Linked DNA regions of Homo sapiens: all the other regions are linked to region 3. The links are contacts of gene promoters, found by promoter capture Hi-C in blood cells and fetal thymus (Javierre and others, 2016). All regions are on one chromosome and are shown on one strand. The core of a region is centred on a gene start or on the middle of the fragment in contact, and the rest is flanking DNA. Distances in the headings are between cores, read along the strand shown.

The links. The method cuts DNA at HindIII sites, captures the fragments that hold promoters and counts their contacts. A CHiCAGO score of 5 or more calls a contact.
Region 1: a contact is called between a fragment that was not itself captured here and the fragment with the promoter of TMEM81 in region 3, in 1 of 17 cell types (endothelial precursors). The highest score is 5.6, in endothelial precursors.
Region 2: a contact is called between a fragment that was not itself captured here and the fragment with the promoter of TMEM81 in region 3, in 2 of 17 cell types (endothelial precursors and megakaryocytes). The highest score is 5.5, in endothelial precursors.

The regions. Positions count from the first base shown.
Region 1 is chr1:205,238,632-205,242,470 of GRCh38, reverse strand. TMCC2 (transmembrane and coiled-coil domain family 2) reads right to left here. Exons shown (of 5, transcript NM_014858.4): 2 at 427-966. Among named protein-coding and RNA genes, the nearest start is that of TMCC2-AS1, 3.3 kb to the right of the region's middle. The HindIII fragment of the contact is 6,983 bases long and covers 1-3,839 here.
Region 2 is chr1:205,258,445-205,261,960 of GRCh38, reverse strand. All of the region lies in intron 2 of TMCC2 (transmembrane and coiled-coil domain family 2), which reads right to left. Among named protein-coding and RNA genes, the nearest start is that of TMCC2-AS1, 23 kb to the right of the region's middle. The HindIII fragment of the contact is 1,978 bases long and covers 805-2,782 here.
Region 3 is chr1:205,083,082-205,086,600 of GRCh38, reverse strand. It overlaps TMEM81 (transmembrane protein 81), which reads left to right and starts at 2,141. Exons shown (of 1, transcript NM_203376.2): 1 at 2,141-3,472. The coding sequence starts at 2,281. The coding sequence ends at 3,048. It overlaps RBBP5 (RB binding protein 5, histone lysine methyltransferase complex subunit), which reads left to right. Exons shown (of 14, transcript NM_005057.4): 14 at 1-459. The HindIII fragment of the contact is 2,208 bases long and covers 421-2,628 here.

The DNA of each region.
Region 1 (3,839 bases), core at 204-2,703, 160 kb before region 3:
ATTAACTCATTTAGTCCTACAACTGTACTATTATTATCCTCATTTTCAATTGGTGAAACAAGCACAAAGAGGTTAACTGAGTAAGTGGCAGAACCAGAGTTGCTTCCAGTCTGTGCTTTAAACTACTATACCTATTGCCTCTTGATAGCCCATTTAAGGAAAACAAGTCAACATTAATATCAGCATGAGCAAAACACAATTTTGAAAAACAGCCCTAAGGAAACAAAAATTAGCCATCCTGGGAATCATCTCTTGTTTTTGGCCTAGTCATACCCGACTCCTTTAACCAAGGTAGATAACTCTGCAGACGGTGGGGTGTCAGTATCTGCCAGGGAGGGCCCCTGGCTCAGCTCCCCAGGTCTCAAGGCCCCTCAGCGGATGGCCCTTGCCTCTGAGTCTCCCCCTGCCCCAGAAGGCCCATCTCACCTTGTCCCCGATGCCTTCGGCCTCCTCAGCCAGGAGGTACACGTTGCTGCCGTCGGCCAGCAGCAGAGCAGTGTCGGTGGTGGAGGAAGAGCGGGGACGGCACTGGTGCTGGTGCAGGATGGCGGCCAGGCTGCTGTCCTGGGGGGCCTTGCGCAGCAGGTGAGGGCTGCCACGCTGGGGCTCCAGGGAGCTACTCTTGGTGCGCCGGCTGCTGCTCCCGCTGCTGCCGCCCCCACTGCTGCTGTGCAGGCTGGCGCCCCGCTTGATGGAGGGCCGGGAGCGGATCTGCTGCAGCACGCGGTTGAAGGCGGTGGGCCGGGCGGGCAGGTCGTGCAGGGACATGGCGTAGGAGACGCGATGCATCTCCGGAGAGCGCTCCTTCTCATCTGGGGAGTCATGGTCGGACATACCCTGCTGCTGCTGATGCTGCTGGGAATCCTGAGACGTCTGGTGCTCCCTTTCCCGAGACCGACGGCGGCTGTGGAACAGGTGCTTCAGACCGTGGCCAAACATGGAGCCCTCTGACAGCTGCTGGATTTTCTTAAGGGGGAGAGATGAAGAACCCTGGTGAGTGGAAAGCTCTTGATTGCCTAGTCAGTAGGAGGGTGAAGGTGAAGGGTCTGTCCTTGGTAGACTGGCATAGCTAATGCAGCCATCTGAACCTGGAAGATCTCTGTGGATGGCCCGTCGTGCATAAAGGGTCAGTTTGCGAAAAGGTGGCAACCCAGACCCATCCTTTCATTCCGAAAGAAGTGTGCCCCCACGGTTTTCCACGGGACATTCCTAATCAAAATGAAGGTTCAGAGTTTCTAGGAATGATGCTCTCAGGGCTTCAGTCTGGGGCTTAATGGCATACACAGGTAGCACTTGGCTCATGGGGTTGTATCCCTCTAGATTGATCCCCACCCCCAGTCCTTCCCTCCTTCCAAGTTAGACGACCCTTCAAGCTGTACTAGTTCTTTCAGGCCACCAAGCATCGATTTCCAAAGTTGCCTAATTCCAACATTCCCCCAGTAAAATCAGGGTCATACAATCAAGTTATACTGTTGTAGCAGACACTGCTAATTGCCTACCCAATATCTATTTTTCTTTCTTACCAACCAAACTGCAAGGACTTAACTCACCTTGCTAAAAATTCCTGCTTCATCAGACTCCCCTTGCAGCTAGGAGTAGCCACATGACACAGTTTGGGCCAACGAAAAGCAAGGTGAGAGCTTCTGGGAGCACTTTTGCTTTCCTGATAAAGGCACTGGCCCTTCCCAAATCTTCCCATCTGGAATGGGAACGTAGTGCCTGGAGATGCAGTGGCCATTCTGCAACCACAAGATGACATGGTTGACGATGAGGGTCTGCACACAGATGGTGGAGCCCAAGGGACAGGCCTGGGAACTTGAAGGTCTATGGAGCCACCAAACCAGTTGTGAACATCTATCCTGGGATTCTTGTTGCATGAAATAAACCCATCTTTGTCTACACAACTCTAGTATGATTTTCTGTTATTTGCAACCAATTTCATTCCTGATATGGTTGGCAATGAAATAAACTTTACTTCTATGAGCAAACCTTGTGACATAGTAATGTGACCAATTCTTTAGCATACACATCAGAACAAGCTATCCAAATGAGTGTCTTTCCCCTTAGATCCAAAGCATAGAGGCACTGCAACCCGGTGCCGCCCAGGCCACAGCCTTTCCTCTTAGCCCTGTTGCTGAGATTCTCCAGCTGCTCTTCCGGCAAGACTGCTCACAGAGGGGCAGCTGGATGGCCTGCCAGGGCGAGCAACTGTGGTATAATTCCAGACAGCTGCTTCTGTCAGGGGACGGCTTATCCGGCCAGGTTGAGCCCTCTATGAGAGCTTTGGAGCTGTTGGAAGGAGGGGTGAGACTTGGAGGACCAGGAGACACCTCACATTCTGCAGCTCCTTAGAGGAAAACTCAGGGCCCAGCCATTTGGGACTCAATGAGCCATAGCAGGATTTCCTGTGAGGAACAACCCACAATCTTACCAGGCTGCCTCAGTCATTTAAAAAATGTTCCAAAAAATTACACAGACTGGATTTTCTTTTTTTTTTTCCCTAGAAACAAACTTACAGAGCAGAAAATCTAGACCATATAGAAACCAAGAAAAAGCAACCTGACATCCTCTAAATGAGCTGACCCCACTCTTAGGTTACTTTACAACTCAGCCTTGAGTTTGTGCAGATGGCTGCGCTTACAGCTGGATACAATAACTGTACTATTATGTATTTGTGTAAAATTTTAGGATTTTCATTTTTCACCTCATTTGAGTATCCCCAGAATCCTTAAAGTAGATGAGGCCCTTACATCACCCATTTTACAGACCAGATAAATTACATCATCACAACTCATCACGAACTAACGGTTTTTCATTTCAAAGGAGATTTGTATCCTGCATTATCCCATTGATTCTCCTAAATAGTAACAAAAGCAACAACGGAAACATCTCCATTTAGAGAAGAGGAAATTAAGGCTACCATGATTCCTTCTCAAGAACTGAATTCTGGGGCAGCCCTCGAGATCTTAAGTTACACAATGCCAGCTTTTCCCACAGGAGTTACCATCCCCTGGGGGCCAGCTTGAGGCAGGGTCACAAGGCTCACCTGAATCTGTGCTGGGGAGAACCAAGATGTCAACTCTGCCATGGACTTGGAACAGGCCAGATCCTGCAGCCTTCAGACCAGGGACCTGCCAGGACACCTCCCCCTTCCCCAGGCCCAAGCTGATGTGAGACCTCCCTCCAGACACTGTGATGGGGCCAGCTGGCTCTGGCATTTGCCCAGCTGCCTCTGCCAAATCGTCACATTCCATAATACGAATTGTCTTTCTAGCGTTCTATTCCAGGTCCCTTCCTCTTCTCCCCCCATTCCTAAACTGGCTTCTCCAACACTGAGGATCCACTCAGGCAGAAAGAGTTTCCCTTCTAAAGACTTCAGCAGAGGTCCTAGAGTTCTGAGGCATTTCCTCTCCCCTATCCCCGGGAGGCTGGTGGAGGTGCTGGGGAGAGCTACGGTGGCCACCGATGTCTGCCATATTGCCTTGGAGCCTAAAATCCTTGGTCAATTTACTTTTAAAATTTATACAACAGCATTTTGCAAAGTGCGTTCCGATTTATACTGTCATTATAATCTGACACTAGCCTAATCTCAGGAGCTAGGAATGTGAGATGTCACAGCATCAGTGTCTATTTTGCAGATGAAGAAACGGAGGCACAGCATAGCTAAGTGGCTCATCCAAGCCACACAGAGAAACCCCCGACTTCTAATTGAATTTACCTTCATGGGCCCATACACTGATTTCAAGACTTAAGATTTAAAGTAGATAGGGTATTTGCATGTGTCCCAGAATAGTATCAGAGGCAGGCGCCAAACAAAAATGCCTGGGTCAAGGGTTGTT
Region 2 (3,516 bases), core at 544-3,043, 180 kb before region 3:
GAGTGCTGGAACAGGACAGAGGGTGAGAAAAGGAGAAAGACTTGCCAAAAAGAACAGCCATGAGACAGGATACAGGGTCTGCGGAAGGTAAAGGAAAGGGCTTTAAAGTTGGAGTTGGGCACTAATTTAGATCCTGGCTCTGTCACTTACCAGCTGAGAGCTATCAGGACGATGAGATGAAACACTGAGTAAAGGGCATAAAGCAGGTGCTTAGAAACAAATACGAACAAATTAAGAGACGCTTCACACCCTTAGAATGACTATAATAATTTTTTTTTTTTTGAGACGGGTTCTCACTCCATGGCCTAGACTGGAGTGCAATGGCATGATCGTGGATCACTGTAGTCTCGACGTCCCAGGCTTAAGCAATCCTCCCACCTCAGCTTCCTAAGTAGCTGGGGCCACAGGCATGAGTCACCAAGCCCAGCCCCTAGTAATTTTTAGAAAGGAAATAAGTGGGCTGCACACAGCGGCTCACACCTGTGGTCCCAGCACTTTTGGAGGCCAAAATGGGAAAATTGCTTGAGTCCAGGAGTTTAAGACCAGCCTGGGCAACACAGCAAGACCTGTCTCTACAAAAAATAAAAAAACAGCCAGGTGTGGTGGTGCATGCCTGTAGTCCCAGCTACTCAGGAAGCTGAGGCAGGAGGATGGCTTGAGCCCAGGAGTTCGAGGCTGCAGTGAGCTATGATCACACACACCACTGCACTCCAGCCTGGGCAACAGAGTGAGACCCTGCTTCAAAAAAAAAAAAAAAAAAAAAAGGAAATAAGTGTTGGTGAGCATGTGCAGGAATTGGAAGCTTTGTGCAACATACCTAAAACATAAAACAGCACAGCTGATGTGGAAAACAGTTTGGGAGTTCCTCAAAAAGTTAACATAGAATTACTTTATGACCCAGCAATTCCACTCCTAGATATTTTCAATTCCCAAACGAATTGAAAATGAGTATTCAACACTCATTTGTACACAAATGCTCATAGCAGCAATATTCACAATAGCCAAAAGGTGGACATAACTCAGATGTCCATTAACTGATGAATGGGTCAACAAAATGTGACATTTCTTGCAATGAAATACTATTCGGCCATGAAAGAAACAAAGTGCCGGTAATGCTCCAACATGGGTGAACCTCAATAATGTTAGGCTAAGTGAAACAAACCAGACAAGAAAGGCCACATAATGAATGATTCCATTATATGAAATATCCAGAACAGTTAAATCCACAGAGACAGAAAGCTGATTAGTGGCTGCCAGGGGGCTGGGGTGGGGGTGGGGGAAGGAATGGGGAGTAACAGCTTAATGGGTACAGGGTTTCCTTGGGGTTGCTGAAAATGTTTAGGAACTAGATGGAGGTGATGTTTCAACAATTGGGTGTGGAAGGCCAGGGTCCTCCACTGGCCTGGGCCACAGCTCCCACCATTGTCCATTACAGAGTGGGTATGCAGGAGGGTCTCTGGGTCCTTCAGCTCACTGTGTCAGGTTTAGTAGGGTAGCAGCTCTTCCTAACACACTCCTAATACCCCTGTCGTGCAGCTGGTTGACTAAAAAGACCAGATCACTCAACTCCCAGTCAGTAGCAGGCAGAAATGCCCAAGGTTCCCCAGCCCAAAGCAGGGCACAGGTGGGCTACACAGGAACCACTGCTCCTCTCTCCAGACCATCACAGAGTCCTGTTTGGCCCATGCCACCCAGCTCCCTATCCATGCCCAGCCACCAGCACCACACCTGGAGTTGTGGCCCCCACACCATGACCTCCTCACCCCACCCCAACCTGCCTGAGATAGGCTGGCCACTCCACAGGTACCTGACTCCAGATTAATCCTTGTGAATGGGCTGGGCAAGCTCTAAGAGGAGAACCGTGGAGGGAGAGTCATACTTCTTCCATGATCCCCCTCCACACCAGAATGCCCCCTGCTCAGGGACCCTACCAGCCAGGGCCTTACATCTTGCTCTACACAAAGGCTGAGGGCTGAGAAGTGCTGACAAATGTCTGGATAAGCCAGAGCTGGGACGTTCTCTCAAGTGTCCAAGACCCAACTTTCCCTATTCCTCTTCCTGCTCCAGTGAGATCTACCCTCAGCCCACGCACACCTGGGGGCTCCCCTCCACATGGCCTTGGTGGCACCCCGGACTCACCTCCCTGGCCCCTTTCACAACACTAAATGAAGCTGGATTAGGCTCTCTGCCAGATTATAAGGAGCTGCCGGATCAGGGCTTCCCAGCCCTGGCTCCCGTGGAACTTCCTGGGGTTTCCACCTCCTCCCAGGGCCTGAACTCAGTGTCCTCGTGTCAACCCGGCCCTGGACATGGGACACCGGTGCTTCCTCTCACACACTAGCCCAGCAGCCTGGATCCCCGATATCCGGGAGGCACACAGTAGACACTGTTGGAACAGAAAGTATCCAGGCTTAAGTGAAGCTGTGTGGAGGGAGGGGAAGGGCACTAGCTATGTAAATTGGGAAATGTGAATCGTGGTTCTCTTTCTTCATAATGTAAATGCATTAAGCAGTTTTCAAGATAGACCACAGAAACAGCTGCCATTTGCAAGGAACATGTGCTCCACACCTGTGCTCCCAGCTGCACGAGAAAGCTGTACCTCTGACCCTCCTCCCTCTGAGGCAGGCAGCCCCTTCCCAGACTCGCAAAGAACCCGTTAGGGTCCCCACAGCAGGCTGACAGGGAGAAAGGGGCCTTCTCATGTTAGCCATCTGCTCAGGAGTTGGAAAGACAATATAAGGTCACTCTTAGATGGAAAAAAAAAAAAGACAAAGAAAAAGCTTTGGGGGTTCCTATGCTTCCCTTTAGGAAAGCAGGGCAGCCCAGTCATCCTGACAATGGAGTCAGGTGTCAACCCTGGCTTGTCTATGGGTCTAGACAAGCAGGCCCAGGCCTGTGCAGAACACCGCTCCTGGGAGCAAGGTCTGGGCTCCCAGTGGGTCAGAGCCCAGCAGGCGAGTGCGGCCCCGGGGCTGGCAGGCCTGGGTGACTCAGCAGAGATGCTTCAATCTGCTGACTGCTGCCCCGTGACTCTGATTTCAGTGGCCCTCTCGGGATAAAGAACGCTCAGATTCCCTTTTTCTACCCATTCTCAGATGGAAGGGGAGGTCAACCAGACTAGGATGGAGAGGAAAGCCTACAGCCAGCTAAAATCCTTCAACCCAAAGAGGTCATGTGACCTTACGGTAAAGTTGGGAGAGAAGGAACTTGAAATTTCTTGTACCAACCCAACATTCCAGCAAGAGCAGGGTGGAAAAATTATTCCAACCCTTGGTCCTGAAGTCAGAGGCTTTCCCCATTCCATTTTTTCAACTCAGCAGGAATAGCCCGGTGGGGCTGGTGGCTCTCTGCCTTCCTGGTGAGGATATGTGGGTAACAGGAAGCTGCTCACTCCAGCTCTGGATGTGTCATCACAGCTGACCCGGGTGCTCCCAGGTGGGCAAAGGGGTGGGGGTGGAGAAAGAGCCTACCTATCGGTTTAATTGGTGCCTGGGAGCCTAAGCGGCTTTTCTCAAG
Region 3 (3,519 bases), core at 892-3,391:
CTCTTCTTCCTTTTTGTCATCCCTGCCCTGCCACCCCCAAAATTTTGTTTTTAAAAATATTCTGGGCTGGGCATGGTGGCTCACACCTGTAATCCCAGCACTTGGGGAGGCCGAGGCTGGTGGATCATCTGAGGTCAGGTGTTTGAGACCAGCCTGGTCAACATGGTGAAACCCCGTCTCTACTAAAAATACAAAAATTAGCTGGGCGTGGTGGCGGGCACCTGTAATCCTAGCTACTCGGGAGGCTGAGGCAGGAGAATTGCTTGAATCCAGGAGGCAGAGGTTGCAGTGAGCTGAGATTGCGCCACTGCACTCCAGCCTGGGTGACAGAGCAAGACTCCATCTCAAAAAAAAAAAAAAAAAAAAATCTGTAGTTTTGTACAAGATGAGACTTAGCCTTGGGTACTTCTTGCTGAAGCTTTAATGCTTTGTAAATAAAATCGGATGTTTATTAAAGAACAGGTGTAGATGTTTATTTGTAAACACTGCTCACTTCTGGAACTCTCTGGCCACTTTGCTTTAGTACAAAGGAAAGTGTGATTTCCTGTGTTGATACTAGATCTTTCAGTGTGGAAAGATAGATCTGGAAGGGGTAGGGAGTGGACAGGTAGTCTAGATTTCTGCCTCTAGATGAGATTGTAAATAAATGATGCAAGTGGAAAAGTTGTTGATCAAAAAGATCATCTAGGAATGATCTGTCTTCCAATTATTTAACTCAATATAGTTTTGCAATTACTCTGAAGAGGCCGTAGGGCTAGGCATTCTGGAGGTTACAAAAATGCATGCTAGGAAGTTCCTGTCTTCCAAGGACCTTTCTTCAAGTCTAAGTAAGTACGGTTGAATTCTTATTAGCCTTTTTTTTTTTTTGAATGAAGCAGCTTTAAAATTTATTAAATGCTCGTTGTCTCCTAAAGATAAGATGTTTCACAAAGTCTATGTAAGTCTTTGATTTTAATGTCAAATTTGAGGGTCTACTTATTAATCTTATGTGATTGAGAACTCCATCTTTGACATCATAGCTGTTTCATAGCAACCTTGACCTACGTGAATAATGAGCTCTATTCTGTAGGATAAAGGGAGTAGGCCAAGAGTCAGGGAGCATCATGCATCCTCTCACTCAAAATATATCTTCAGTATCCTTGGGAAGGAAGAGTGCCTAAAAGGGGGAGAGGAGCTGCCTTTAACACAACCTTAAACATTCTGATTTGAAAAGGTCATCTTGGCCCTTGTCTTTATGAATTTCCATTTCTATTTAAAATTCCTTACACATTGAACAGTGTTTCACACTTTACAAAGTGTTCTCACATACAGTATATCATTCAGTGCTCTAAGTGACCTTCCTCAGATAGGCAAGGAGGTCTTAAGTTACAAAGGAGGAAACAGAAATTCAGGAAGGGTAAGTTACTTGCCTCCTAGTCCAGAGTTCTTAATCCTTTTTATAGGAAGTTTAGGAACATTAAAATAATTCAAGTTAATCTTCCTTTTTTTAGACTTTAGTATTTGTTTTATTTGGTGACATTTAACTGGGGCTTTTGAAACCCTTAATTTAGATCCTAGTTTATAGAGGGGAAGGGGAAGGGTGAGGAAGAGTGTAACTTCACTATGCATTTGAGGTAATCTGGAAATTTACTTCAGTTTCTGAAGTCTTTTCTTCTTTGTCTTCCCAAGAGGTGGATTTAAAGTCATTAAGAGAACACGAAAACGGCCAGCGCGGTGGCTCATGCCTGTAATCCCAGCACTTTGGGGGGCTGAGGTGGGTGAATTGCTTGAACCCAGGAGTTGGAGACAAGCCTCGACAACATGGTGAAACCCCGTATCTACAAAAAATAGAAAAATTAGCCAGGTGTGATAGCCTGCACCTGTAGTCCCAGCTACCTAGGAGGCTGAGGTGGCAGGATCACTTGAGCCTAGGAGGTTGAGGCTGCAGTGAGCTGTGATCATGTTACTGCACTCCAGCCTGGGTTGACAGTGAGGCCCTGCCTCAAAAAAAAAAAAAAAAAAAAAAAGCGTGAAGACTAGTAGGTAAGGTGGTTATTTTATTAACAACGATAGTTAGTAAAGCAACACCATTGTGATTTTTTTCCTGCCTTGTGGCCTCACCTGTTTATAAGGACTGGACTTTTATTTATTAAGTTGTGTTGTTTTATTGACAATACATGCATCATATCTTTTGACTTTGAAGGATATCTCATGTCAAAGGAATCAAGTTATGATTTATAGAGGATTCAGCTGGAATACCTTGTGGGTGCTGGCTGAGGGTGGCAAAACGCCTACCGAGACATGAAGGTTTTAGCCACTAGTTTTGTCCTTGGGAGCCTGGGGTTGGCCTTCTACCTGCCTTTGGTGGTGACTACACCTAAAACACTGGCCATCCCTGAGAAGCTGCAAGAAGCTGTGGGGAAAGTTATCATCAATGCCACAACCTGTACTGTCACCTGTGGCCTTGGCTATAAGGAGGAGACCGTCTGTGAGGTGGGCCCTGATGGAGTGAGAAGGAAATGTCAGACTCGGCGCTTAGAATGTCTGACCAACTGGATCTGTGGGATGCTCCATTTCACCATTCTCATTGGCAAGGAATTTGAGCTTAGCTGTCTGAGTTCAGACATCTTGGAGTTTGGACAGGAAGCTTTCCGGTTCACCTGGAGACTTGCTCGAGGTGTCATCTCCACTGACGATGAGGTCTTCAAACCCTTTCAAGCCAACTCCCACTTTGTGAAGTTTAAATATGCTCAGGAGTATGACTCTGGGACATATCGCTGTGATGTGCAGCTGGTAAAAAACTTGAGACTCGTCAAGAGGCTCTATTTTGGGTTGAGGGTCCTTCCTCCTAACTTGGTGAATCTGAATTTCCATCAGTCACTTACTGAGGATCAGAAGTTAATAGATGAGGGATTGGAAGTTAATCTGGACAGCTACTCCAAGCCTCACCACCCAAAGTGGAAAAAGAAGGTGGCGTCAGCCTTGGGAATAGGAATTGCCATTGGAGTGGTTGGTGGCGTGTTGGTGAGGATTGTCCTCTGTGCGCTAAGGGGGGGCCTGCAGCAGTGACAGCTTCAAGAACTTAACAGCCTTGCTCCTGAAGAACTGGCTGCCCAGGAAGCCAAGCTAGCTTTTTAGGGGAGTGTTCCAGCTGCTGGTAGTGGATCAGCTTAGAGGGAACACTCCCACAGCCAAAAGAATGAGTGGGAGAAATGGAGGGGACAATCTCCTGGGAGCTATGCGCAGTAACCTAACTTCCTTATGTCCCATGGATCTCTTCCTGATCTTCCCTGCCCATTGGGTACCCAGGAAACTGCAAGCATTGCCTGTGTTCCTGGGAAGAGTTCTAAGAAGCTTGCATTCATTTTCTACCCTTTATGACTTGGATGCCTCCCCACCTCCATTTCCCCTCTTCTGAGCTGTGTATTCATGTAGAGGGATGTATTCAGCCTTTTTAGTGAACATTTTTTTTCAATAAAAGTAATTCACAGTAGCTGTATGGAGACCTTTTTCTGCTCTTCAGTTTCTTGTATTTATTTA